Regions from separate parts of the Homo sapiens genome. Here regions 1, 3 and 4 are each linked to region 2. Evidence: promoter capture Hi-C in 16 types of primary human blood cells and fetal thymus (Javierre and others, 2016). All regions are on one chromosome and are shown on one strand. Each heading gives the region's core, a stretch centred on a gene start or on the middle of the fragment in contact. The rest is flanking DNA. Distances are from core to core; before and after follow the strand shown. Region 1 overlaps CDCA2 (cell division cycle associated 2). Region 2 holds the start of DOCK5 (dedicator of cytokinesis 5). Region 3 overlaps CDCA2 (cell division cycle associated 2). Region 4 overlaps KCTD9 (potassium channel tetramerization domain containing 9).

Evidence for each region. Contacts are between HindIII fragments. The CHiCAGO score rates a contact against its expected background, and 5 or more counts as called.
Region 1: a contact is called between a fragment that was not itself captured here and the fragment with the promoter of DOCK5 in region 2, in 1 of 17 cell types (endothelial precursors). The highest score is 6.3, in endothelial precursors.
Region 3: a contact is called between a fragment that was not itself captured here and the fragment with the promoter of DOCK5 in region 2, in 8 of 17 cell types (neutrophils, megakaryocytes, erythroblasts and 5 more). The highest score is 12.1, in neutrophils.
Region 4: a fragment that was not itself captured here is called in contact with the fragment with the promoter of DOCK5 in region 2 in 4 of 17 cell types (neutrophils, monocytes, megakaryocytes and 1 more); the score reaches 9.6 in neutrophils.

Annotation. Positions count from the first base shown.
Region 1 is chr8:25,495,815-25,498,866 of GRCh38, forward strand. The region is part of intron 13 of CDCA2 (cell division cycle associated 2); the gene reads left to right. Among named protein-coding and RNA genes, the nearest start is that of CDCA2, 38 kb to the left of the region's middle. The HindIII fragment of the contact is 1,573 bases long and covers 491-2,063 here.
Region 2 is chr8:25,183,395-25,186,339 of GRCh38, forward strand. DOCK5 (dedicator of cytokinesis 5) reads left to right here and starts at 1,295. Exons shown (of 52, transcript NM_024940.8): 1 at 1,295-1,557. The coding sequence starts at 1,515. It overlaps LOC124901912 (a long non-coding RNA gene), which reads right to left and starts at 983. Exons shown (of 2, transcript XR_007060861.1): 1 at 1-983. RefSeq lists silencers at 1,113-1,192, 1,203-1,372, 1,543-1,592. The HindIII fragment of the contact is 10,671 bases long and covers 1-2,945 here.
Region 3 is chr8:25,460,039-25,463,098 of GRCh38, forward strand. CDCA2 (cell division cycle associated 2) reads left to right here. Exons shown (of 15, transcript NM_152562.4): 2 at 202-262; 3 at 346-516; 4 at 2,016-2,170. The coding sequence starts at 202. Among named protein-coding and RNA genes, the nearest start is that of CDCA2, 2.3 kb to the left of the region's middle. The HindIII fragment of the contact is 1,718 bases long and covers 495-2,212 here.
Region 4 is chr8:25,441,886-25,445,036 of GRCh38, forward strand. It overlaps KCTD9 (potassium channel tetramerization domain containing 9), which reads right to left. Exons shown (of 12, transcript NM_017634.4): 3 at 2,407-2,450. Among named protein-coding and RNA genes, the nearest start is that of KCTD9, 15 kb to the right of the region's middle. The HindIII fragment of the contact is 1,318 bases long and covers 605-1,922 here.

The DNA of each region.
Region 1 (3,052 bases), core at 27-2,526, 310 kb after region 2:
AAATAAGCAATTTTTCCCATCATTAAGAATCAAGATGTGCACTCAGAGACAAAAGATATATTTTTAAATCCAACAAATTTAAAACTTTGGAAGACTAAATTTGAATTGGAAATAAGAGTAGAAACTCATTTTATTTTCCATTTAAAAGAATTGTCCAGCTCTATCCATTGATAAAGCTTAAAATTCATGAGCATCCCTGGTGCATAGATTATCATTAGACATACCAGTTAAAAGGGGTTAGGGTCCCTTGGTGAAATGGCTGCTTTCAGATTTACAACAACAAATTTAATAAGTGAGCCTGGTTGGGTCTGTACCAGAGTACAAGGAAGGATGCTAAAAAAAACTACTGGTGTCATGTTAACAGACACAAATCCATCTTCAAGGGACTTACACTGACCAGATATGATCATCAGCATTGCAAAGCATTGAAGTACAATCATGAAATAACACATAAGTTTATTACTTTTTTTTAATTAATGGACACTTTAGAAGCTTGCTAGGATACCCACTCATTTTTCTGATAACAGGAAAATAAAATTTGAGCTCTATTTCAGGTAAACAAATAGTTGATGAGGGAAAAGTTGTTTATAGAAGAATTTCAGGTAATAAAAGAAATGCTCAACAAAGCTGCTTAAAACGTTTGATAAAAGGCTGATGTGACATAGTAACAATCAACAGAGGAAAGAAACACCGTATAGAATGGGAGAAGATACTGTAACTACAAACCATACATCTGATAAGGGGTTAATAGCCAAAATGTATAAGAAACTCAAACAGCTCATTAGCAAGAACACACCAATTTAAAAATGGTCAAAGGTCCAGAATAGACAGTTCTCAAAAGACATGCAAATGGCTAACATCACTAATCATCAGGGAAATGCAAATTAAAACCACAATGAGATATCACTGGCTATTATCAAGCAGATGAAAGATTACAAGTGTTGGAGAGGATATGGAGAAAAGGGAATCCTTTGTACACTATCAATAGGAATGTAAATTGCTACAGCCTGTTTTGATTGGCAAAGTCAACTAAAAATATAGAACTGAATCTCTAAACAAAATGTTTTATTTGGGAAAACGTAATTGCAGTTTGGGGCAAACACACAGACCGAGGTGGTCTTTGATATGTCCTAAGAACGTAGAAAGTTGGGGTTTTTAGTAGAAAAAGAAATGTTACATATTATTTAGAAAAAAAACTCACTGGCCCTAAGCAAAATTTTGGGGAGCTGGTAAACTCTGGTGAGTGATGGTGGTAGTTAAATTTAGTCTTACAGTCCCAAGTGCTTTTTTTCCCCTGGTCTCTGGACTCTAGTTGTTTATGACACAGTGACTCCAAATAATCCATTTTCACAAGCCATTGTGGGAAACATTACGGGGGTTCCTCAAAAAATTAAAAATAGAACTACCATATGATCCAGCAAATCCCACTTCTGGGTATGTATCCAAAGGAAATCAGTATATCAAAGAGCGATAACCAAGTTACAGACTCAAGCTGAGTATCCATCAACAGGTGAATGGATAAAGAAAAAATATGTGTGTACACACACAACAAAATGCTATTCAGCCTTAAAGAAATCCTGTCATTTTGACAGCATAGAAGGACCTTAAGGGCATTACGTTAAGTAAAATAGTCCAGGCACAGAGAGACAAGAAGATCTTACTTACATGTGGAATCTTTAAAAAATAAAAAATAAAAAAAAAAAAAACTCACAGAAGCTGAGAATAGAATGGTGGTTGTCAGGGGGGCTAGTGGCTTGAGTGGTGGGGGATGAGGAGATGTTGGTTCAAGGGTACAAAGTTTCAGTTAGGATGAGTAAGTTCTGGAGATCTGTTGTACAGCATGGTGACTAGGAAATAATAATGTATATGGGAAAATTGCTAAGAGATGACATTGTAAGTGTTCTTGCCATAAAATAATTATGTGAAGTGGTGGATATGTTAGTTTAATCATTTCCCAATGTGTACATATGTCAAAACCTCTCATCCACCATGCTATATGCAATTTTTAATTTGTTGGTTATACAATTGTATTCAAATTTGCCCATCAAAACTGAATCTAATCAAGCTTCTAGATCTAATTACCAATTTATAGGACATGGAGGAACATAGACTCACCTACTGTAGTGAGCCAAATCTAGGACTTGGCTAATTCTATAGGAAAAATGCCTCAATTTACTCACCAAATAAATGTCAAGGGAAGTAAAAAAGGAGCCATAGAATAAAAGAGACTAAAAGACATGAATCAAATGGTATGTGTGGAGATCTTATTGGGGTCCTGATTAGAACAGTTGTTTTAGAAAAAGAAATTATGGGCCAAGGGAGAAATTTGAACTTTGAGGAGATACTAGGGAAAATTGCCATCATGGTTTTTGTGTTTTGTTGAATTACATTTTGTTTTGTTTTGTTTTGTTGGAATGGAGTCTCGCTCTGTCGCCCAGGCTGGAGTTCAGTGGCACGATCTCGGCTCACTGCAACCTCCTCCTCCCCGGTTCAAGTGATTCTCCTGCCTCAGCCTCCCCAGTAGCTGGGACTACAGGTGTGCACCACCATGCTCAGCTAATTTTTGTATTTTTAGTAGAGACGGGGTTTCACTATGTTGGCCTGGCTGGTCTCAAACCCCTGTCCTCAGGTAATCTGCACCCCCCCCCCGCCCCCCAGGCCTCCCAAAGTGCTGGGATTACAGATATGAGCCTCTATCCCTGGTGTACATTTTAAGTTTTGTGATCATTTTGGATACACACACTCTTCTAAGAAGTAATGCAGAAAGATCCCAAGTACCCTTTACCTAGTTTCCCCCAATTGTGACATCTTGCGAAACCATAGTTCAGGGTCGCAGCCAAGATATTGATACAGCCGAGATCCAGACAGCTTTCCCATGGCCCTTTGTAGCTACATCCACTTCCTACCCATAACCCCGCCTCATCCCCTGGCAACCACTAATCTTTCTTCATTCCTACAGTTTTGTCATTTCGAAAAGGTTACCCAAATGGAGTCATGTACTGTGTAACTCGGGGACTGGCTTTTTCACTCAGCATAATTCTCTGGAGATTTG
Region 2 (2,945 bases), core at 45-2,544:
AGAGAAGGGGTTTCACCATGTTGGCCAGGCTGGTCTGGAACTCGTGACCTCAGGTGATCCACCCGCCTCGGCCTCCCAAAGTGCTGAGATTACAGGCATGAGCCACCACGCCTGGCCAACTACCTGTCTTTACTATCTTTACTACATGTTTGTCTTCCTTTCTTTTATATTCCTAAAACGCATGAAAACCTTCACAGGCTGCAAGGAGGATATAATTTCTCTCTAGAGGAATCTTCTTCGAAGGTGAACGTAATTAAGCTGGTCATTTACTCTACTTGCAATGTTACTTCTCGGTACAAGGTAGGGAGAAACCCCTGGATCTTCATTCTCCAAGTCTCTCCAGGAAGAAATGAATTCCAAGAGGGGAGCTCCAGAGAGGGCGCCACCTGGAGCCCAAGGCGGTTCAAATGCGCAGCCCCTTTGGGATCTTCGTCAAGAAAAGGCAGTCGTTGACGGAGAAAAGACGGGGATGCGCCTTGGCCCTTTCTCCACGGGAATGCTCTCTGGGCTGCTGGCTGGTTGGGAAAGGGAGGTCTGGGCATGAGGGTCTAAGTTTCTTCAGCTTAAGGTTGGGGGGTCCCCGGAGTTTGGGGATACAGGACTTCCAAATTAGGGCTTTCTAAACAATTTCCCTGCAGAGGATCCCCTAGCAAACGGTCTGATACTTCTGAGGAGCCCACCTCCCTTGCACCAGCTCTCCGGTGATAAAAGTTCTGCTTTCCAGGCTCTAAGCGGTGGCCCCGGGAGATTCAGTCTGCCCTGAGTCCGGCTTCTCCCGCTCGCGGCGCGGGTTCAAGCTCCAGGGGGTGAAGGCAGAAGTCAACTGCTCATTCATTCAACAAATATTTATTGCGCGCCCGCTTAGTGCCAGGCACCGGAGGTGCCCCGAGCAAGAAGCCGCTCTCGCTGATCCGTTTCCGCTCCCCAAGTGTCCGGCGCGCGCCGTGGGAGCGCAGCCCGCATCCCTCGCCCACCGGCCGCCCGGCCTGGGCGTGCCCGGCTCCTCCAGCGCAGCCCTCTGTCGGGAGCCGGACCCCCGGGACCCAGCCTCCGGGGTATCAGCCGGGTGGGGAGGGCGGGAGAAAGGCAAAGTGCCGCCAGCGTCAAAGTCCCGCCGGCCCAGGAAGCCGCTCCAGGGAAGCGCGCGAGGCGGAGCCGCAGTCGGCCCCCGCCCGGCAGAGCGCAGAGAGCGGCGCGGGCGGGAGAGGCCGGGCGCCCGCGGCTCGGAGGCGGCCCCGGCGGGCGGAGGGTGCGGCCGGCGGGAGGGACTGGGGCGGCGCCAGGAGGGGCGCGCACTGCTGCGCTGCAGCCCGGCCCAGCAGGTGACCGCGGGCGGCGCGGGCACGGGCACGGGCGCGGGCGGCGCGGCGAGGAGGCGGCCCGCGGAGTCCAGCGAAGTTTGGCGGAACATGGCGGAAGCGTCTGGGGCACGCAGGAGCGCGGGGCGGCGGCGGCCGGAGCCCGAGGAGCTGTAGCAGCCTTAGTCGCCGCCGCCGCGGGGCGAGGTCGCCGCCATGGCCCGCTGGATCCCGACCAAGAGGCAGAAGTACGGGGTTGGTGAGTGCGCGCCCCACCTTGTCCCGGCCCGACCCACGCGGCCAAGTTCGCGGACAGCGGCCCTGCCAGGTTTGCGCAGAGCCCGGCGGAGGACCCTGGCCGGGGGCTCGGCCCGGCTGCGCAGCTCTGGGAGCCGGGGACGGTAGGAGTCCTCTCCAGGGAGCGCCGATGGGGAAGTCGCCCAGGGTTTGGGGACTCCGAGTGCTTCCAAGTGCAGCTGAGCTTCGGGACCGTAATCCCGCTCTTGCATCCCAATCTCCGGCACTTCACACCAGGGAAATGTCAACGCGAGGGGGGCGCGCCTGCTGCTCTTTTGGGGCCGCAGCTCTGTGGCTCGCCCCGGTGCGCCCAGCGTGGGTTTCACCTGGGAGTAGGTGACCAGCCCGGGTCGGCACATGGACTGGTGCTCATTGTCCCAGTGCTTTCTGCCCCCCGCTTTCGTAGGTTCTTCTCAGACGCCCCTTAAGTGAGGAGTTGAGGGTGGAAAGCCGCCCTGCCCCCTTTCCTCCAGAGACTGGGATCTTGATGACAGTTGTGAGCTGGATGGAAACTAGAGTCGTGGCGTGGAAGTGATGGAAGGGACAGGAAGTTGTGGCACGGGAAGGGGGTGGCTGGCCCCTGGGGCTGTTTGTGCGCACTCATCCCCTAACGGAGCCTGTCTGGAGAGGGTGTAAGGCTGCCTTCCGGATCCTGAGTTTCATCCTGGAGACGAGAAGAGGACATTTTATTAAGGAAACTGTGCCAGACCCCGTGCTGGGCACTTGGCATTCAGAACAGCGGTGCTGGAGAGCCCCGGGTTGTGCGCAGGGGTTGCTGGTGGTGGTGCTTTGGCTCCGAAACAATAGATGTGCGGGGATTTTGACCCAGGTGGAAAGTCAGGCTCCTTTGGCTTTTTATCAAGGATTGAAGTTATTGAGGGCCTGTGGGAAGACTTCTGCCCTGAACGGGGTGATTACAATGGCAGTTAGACCTGGGGTGATTCCCTACAATAAACACGGCTGAGTGTGTTGCGAATTTTATCACTTCCTCTCAGATCCATTCATTTGGCCTGTTTGTAATTTAGTCTTTGACTTTACTCCCTTACTGAGGTCCTGTTTTTCCTCACCTCACTGGTTAATGAAGTGCAGTCTCAATTAAGAGCTACTCAACGTGTCTAGGGGCTTTTCAACTCTGTAGCCAGGAGTCAGGGTTTTTTGTTGTTGTTTGTTTTGTTTTTTAACAGTCTCATATTTACTATATTATTCTTAGGTTGTGATCCTTTATATATTTATTATTTTTTGTTTTCCCTCAATTCAAAAGACATTTTCTTTTTTGCTCTTAAGTTGCTTTTAGAATCTTAGTCTCTCCCTTAGCTGCATCTCAGAAATGGGTAGAGATGTTGCTTCTGC
Region 3 (3,060 bases), core at 104-2,603, 280 kb after region 2:
TGTATCAAAATATTTCATGTACCCCATAAATTATACATCTACTGTATACCCACAGAAATTAAAATAAAAAATGAAACCTGTGACGTGTGTTTCTATGCCAGTATGGACTGTATTACAATTCAGTCCTGAATAAGGTACGTGATCGAATCACGTTCATCTTGCTGGTGGGGTTATTTTTCATTGTTTTTCTTCACCTCTTAGATGGATGCCAATTCAAAAGACAAGCCCCCTGAAACCAAGGAGTCTGCAATGAATAATGCTGGTATGTGATGATCTGCCTCCTTGTGAAGTTGAAGGTTTAGACAGAGAGTTGTCCTCACCCCTACAATATGTCGTCCGTTTCAGGAAATGCCTCTTTCATTTTGGGAACTGGGAAGATTGTGACTCCTCAGAAGCATGCCGAATTACCTCCTAATCCTTGCACACCAGATACTTTTAAATCACCTTTGAACTTTTCCACAGTAACCGTAGAGCAATTGGGAATTACACCTGAAAGCTTTGTTAGGAACTCTGCAGGTAAGAAAAGTTGTCATTCTGTTGTAATGCTTTTCAAGTTTAAAAATAACTTTAATATAACTCAGCTTTATTTGTTTATACGTACTGTCATATTTTAGGTACCTAAATTGCCTACTCTGCAAACTTGCTTCTTCAGAGAGACTTCTTTGCACATGCACAGTTCATTTAGCATAGCAGGGATCACGGAATCGCAGGGCACCCAGCATGATAATGTTCCCAAGTCAGAGTCGTGCTTGATGCCAATACTAGAAAATAATGTGTGTGTGAGTCACTTTTTGACCTGTCACCTAGGATACAGGAGGGTGTATGATATGAATAGTAATAATGCATTTTGTTTTCATTTATGGCAAAAATAAGAGAAAGTTTAAGAGCAATTAAGAAAATATAATACTGAAAGAGCAGGATGTACCTCCTTTAACAATCACAAACAGGGTTGGGCTCAGTGGCTCAAGCCCGTAATCCCAGCGCTTTGGGAGGCCGAGGCAGGCAGATCACCGGAGGTCAGGAGTTCGAGACCAGCCTGACCAACATAGAGAAACCTCGTCTCTACTAAAAATACAAAATTAGCCGGGCATGGTGGTGCATGCCTGTAATCCCAGCTACTCAGGAGTTTGAGGCAGGAGAATCGCTTGAACCTGGGAGGCAGAGGTTACCGTGAGTCGAAATCGCACCATTGCATTCCAGCCTGGGCAACAAGAGTGAAACTCTGTCTCCAAAAAAAAAAAAAAAAAAAAAAACACAAACAGAAGATTGATTCTGGCTAATGTCCTTCGAGCAGTAGAAATGAAGTTTACTTGTGAAGTCTGACTTAGATGGAAAAGAAGGAAATACTATATGAGAATGGAATTGGATCAGAGAATAGCATTTAGAATTGGAGGATAATGGAAGTCTTGAATATCACAGGGCACTAGACCAGGTAATACATAAGACAAGGCGAAAGTGGCACGCCACCCTAACTTTCATTCTCAAAAACATCACTCTTAGACCTTTAAAAGGCTGGATTCATTTTGTGTGCTTAGGCATATGTCCAAAATTCAGGGTAGTGCTGATGGTAGGTATCAGAAAGAAACAATCATCTTGAAGAATTAAGAACCTGAGACTGCATGTACCTAGGTGGAGATCTTACCTTTCAGTTGCTGGGGATAAAACTGACTTATTTAGAAAAAGAAAAATACTGAGTCAAAAGCAAAAGCCATCTGTGTGTAGGAAATAAGAAACAAAAATGAAAACTTAAAATGTGTTCATGTATTTATTCAACAACTTTTAATAACTGTTCTATGTACCAGGCACTGTTCTAGGAGCATAGACTAAGTCAGCAGACAAAAAGATTCCTCTTCCACTGATTGTATATGAATGACTGTGCCAGTAACTCTCCACTGAGTTTTTTGTAGCACATGTTTATCATGTTTTCTCTCTCAGGCTGGTACATCACGAGTATTGGATGTGGTTACTGATGATTGCCTTGTTTTGTTCCAATTTATAAGAGAGTTTCATTACAGGAAAGTCATCATCCTACCTTAAAAAATGTAGACGACGTTCTGCAGTCGGTGCTCGGGGCTCTCCTGAAACAAACCATCTGATTCGTTTCATTGCTCGGCAGCAAAATATAAAGAATGCTAGGAAATCTCCTTTGGCACAAGATTCTCCTTCCCAGGTATGATTTTCTTCTAAGTTCTGTCGTGAATTCCGTTAATGAAGCTTTTGTGCTTTCTTTACACCTTCTAGTGCATCTGCTCTGTTTCAAATCTGGAGGGAGATTTTCTCTGTGTTTTAGAGAACATGCAGTTAGCGGCCGGGCGCGGTGGCTCACGCCTATAATCCCAGTACTCTGGGAGGCTGAGGCAGGCAGATCATTTGAGGTCAGGAGTTCGAGACCAGCCTGGCCAACATGGTGAAACCCCATCTCTACTAAAAATACGAAAATTAGCTGGGTGTGGTGGCAGGTTCCCGAAATTCCAGCTACTTGGAGGCTGAGGCACGAGAATTGCTTGAACCTGGGAGGCAGAGGTTGCATTGAGTCAAGATCATGCCACTATGTTCCAGTCTGGGCGACAGAGTGAGACTGTCTCAAAAAAAAAAAAAATGCAGTTAGCCTAAATGATGATGTTGACCATGGGTGATTTTTCTTTGTTTGCTTTGTTTTAGAGACAGGATCTCAGTTGCCCAGGCTGGAATGCACTGGTGCAATCATAGCCCACCGCAGCAATGAACTCCTGGGCTCAAGGAATCCTCCCACCTTAGCTTTCCAAGTAGCTGGAACTATAGGCATGTGCCACAGCAATGGGCTAATTATAAAAATTTTTTTTTGTAGAGATGGGGCCTCACTATGTTGCCCAGGCTTATTTTGAACTCCTGACCCTAAGCAATCCCTATCAAAGTGCTGGGGTTACAGGTGTGTGCCACAGTGCTCAACCCAAACGAGGGTATTTTTAGAGTTATGAGACCCTGGATAGAAATAGCTTTCTAGAGGAGCTTTTTATTTTATTTCTCAATTTTTTTTTCTAGTTAAGATCTACTTTTCTATGAGGTGAGGCACTACTACCT
Region 4 (3,151 bases), core at 14-2,513, 260 kb after region 2:
CAGCTCCTGGTTGGGGGCTGAGGCAGGAGGATCACTTGAACCCAGGAGGTTGAAGCTGTAGTGAGCCAAGATCATACCACTGCACTACAGCCTGAGTGATGAAGTGAGGCCCTGTCTCAAAAAAATAAATAAAATAAAAAGAAAGGAAAAGAAAGTTTCAAACATAAAAGACAAGTGTAAAAGATCCACCCTACATACAATAGAGTCCTGAAAGAAGGAAATCAAATCAAAGTGAACAAAATAAAAATGTCAACTTCAAGAGAACTGTACTGAAATTTTAAAATACATACACTTGAAACTATATATTGAAAGGATCCATCACATACTGAGAAAACCAATCCAGAACAACTCAGAACACCAATAAATATTCTACTAAAATTACTGTACTTTAAAGAAAGAGAAATATCCTTTGGGTGATCTATGAAAAATAATCACATAAGAAAGATCAGATTTTTTGAGACCAACACCTCAGGCCAGAATAAAATGCAGTAACATATTTAAGATATTCAAAGAAAAATAATGTGAACCAAGGATTTTTCAATAGCTTCACTGAGGTATAATTAACACAGAACAAGTTACACATACTAAAGTTTATAATTTAATAAGCTTTGACATATAATTTTATACCAAAATTATATAAAGATGGTGGATGGCAATGGCATCTTGCCATTGGAAGATGTCACCGAATATTGTTCTCATAGTATCTTGGAGAGAAATCTACTAGAGAACAAGTTTCAGATAAACACTGGAAACATAACAAAAGGACTGGAGGTAAGTGTACGCTTGAAGAAGTAAAACTAAATGAGTGTATAAAGGGAGACACTATAATATACAATGGCTATATGTTCCGACAATTCAGAAACAATACAATTATTTTTAAGTAAGGGGAGAAGGGATTTAGCATATGAAAAACATTTAACTGTTTTTAGTAATTATATTGGTACTGAAAGTATTGAGTTTGTTACTCTGACATTTTTAGATGTGTTCTGTATGGGGTAAAGTAAATGAGTAATTATGTGACATTATAATTCTATTAGTCTCCATGTCCCTGAAAGTCAGGACTATTGATATAGAAAAAGGAGACACAGATGTAAGACAGAAGAGGATAAGTAAAAACCTTATAATCCTTAATATAAACTTTAAGTACTACTATGAAGCCATGAGTTATTTCATCTATCCATATTTTGTTATATATGACATATAAACTTTATATCCTATAACATACATTATATACAAATTTTATCTCTACCTATATATTTTCAATTCTGTCCACCAAAAGGCATAGCAACAATAATGAACCCAATAGCGAAGAGCCTCCCTAGCACCCAGATTTGTCTTGGAATGACACTTCCCACTAAAAAAATCAAGGCTTGTTGGAAAAATGTTGATCCAGGTCTGAGACAGGAAAAGGTTTTAAGATGAACACCAGTTATTCCAGATAATAAGAAAGCCATAAAATCCAACAAGGTTTGTTAAAAAGACCCGAAGAGATTTCCAGTGGCAAAAAATTAAGACCATCTGAACATCAATAAATGCAGAGGATGAAAATATACCAAATATTTTTAAATCCATGAGTTAATAACAATAAAAAAACCTTAATTGATCATTTTTTATTGTGTTTGTATGCAGTGGACCAATTAAGTGACCATTGCCTGCCAGTCACTGTTAGGCCAATGGATAAAAGAAGATGAGAAGTTCTTGCTTACAGTTTTAAGGTAGAGACAGACAGACAAGAGTATGCACTTACTTCTAAGTTGACAATTGCCTGTGCAACAATCGTGAGAACTACTTCCACTCACCAAATGCAATTAGTATGATGCTTTAAAAAATACTTAAATATTCAGAGTGTGGACTGTATGGATCTAAATAAATCAAATACTTTATCTTCCTTTCGGCCTTTTCTTTTGAGATATACAACTATAAGCTTTCTTCCAAATCAAAGGGTAGTGTGTGTGCACACCTGTGTGTGTGGTTGATACCAAGTCATTTTTTGGCTGATCTGATCACTGTGAAATACTGTCAAACACTACTTACGCAAGCAATATTTACTCACAAATATGTAATACAACACGTAGAAAAATTTTGACATTCACCATCAAAGAAAAAATTTTCAAACAAAACAATTGTTTCTAAGATCAAAACTACCTTACTATGTTACAGTTAATGAATATGTATACCTCCAGAGCATTTTAACGGCATGTAAAACATGCATCTATAATAAACTACGATCATATAGTAAAAAATTTACTTTAACATACCCAATGCAGAATCAAAAAGTGTGAAGATTTGAATACAGCCATAAGATCATTTTTAATGTTTAAGCTTAATAGCCCCATTTAAAATAATTGTCATTCCATCTTTTTTTTTTTTTTTTGGCAGATAAAATTGGCTTTTAAAGTCACTTACCAATAAATGGCTCTCCTTCACAAACAAACAAAACATCATCATCCCTGGGGAAATCAAAATTTAAAAAGCTACCATCAAAATCTAAAAATCACATTAATTATCTGTTGCTTATAGGAACTATTCCTTACAATTATATAGACAATAGGTTTTGCTATCAATCTAGACTGCAAAGAAGCTAAGTTTCCAATGCTTTGTTTAACCCCTTGAACTTAACTGTCTTTGAATTTAAATTCAAAAATAAGATCTTGCACATGAAAGTACTTTTGAAATGTGGGGAAAAAAATCTCCTTACACAAACGATGTTGAGTTCAGCTTTCTTATCAATTGAGAATGAATAATTATGCTGAAAGGATAGATTAAAGTCACAGCCAACTATTCTTTTTTTCTTTACATTTTTTACCCCTAAATCATCAGCTGTTGTGTGCTTTGGAGATGAAATAAACTGTCATATTAAATCTAGGAAAAATATAGCTGGAAGTAACTCTACTGTCAGTGTTTACCCACTACACATCCACCATACACCCAAATGTAAATGGCTGCACATAACCCAGAGTTCTGGACAATCAGTGCACATCCTCTTCCTCAACCCATTACCCCAGATACTGTATTGTGAACCAAAAATGAATAAACAGATATCTTATAGCTCAGAAGGCTTCAATTATAACCTTCCATTGTAGACGTTTTTATTTCCTATAGGACATCACAGGACACGTTAAATTTTTCTAAGAAGCAGAGTTCGTGTTTG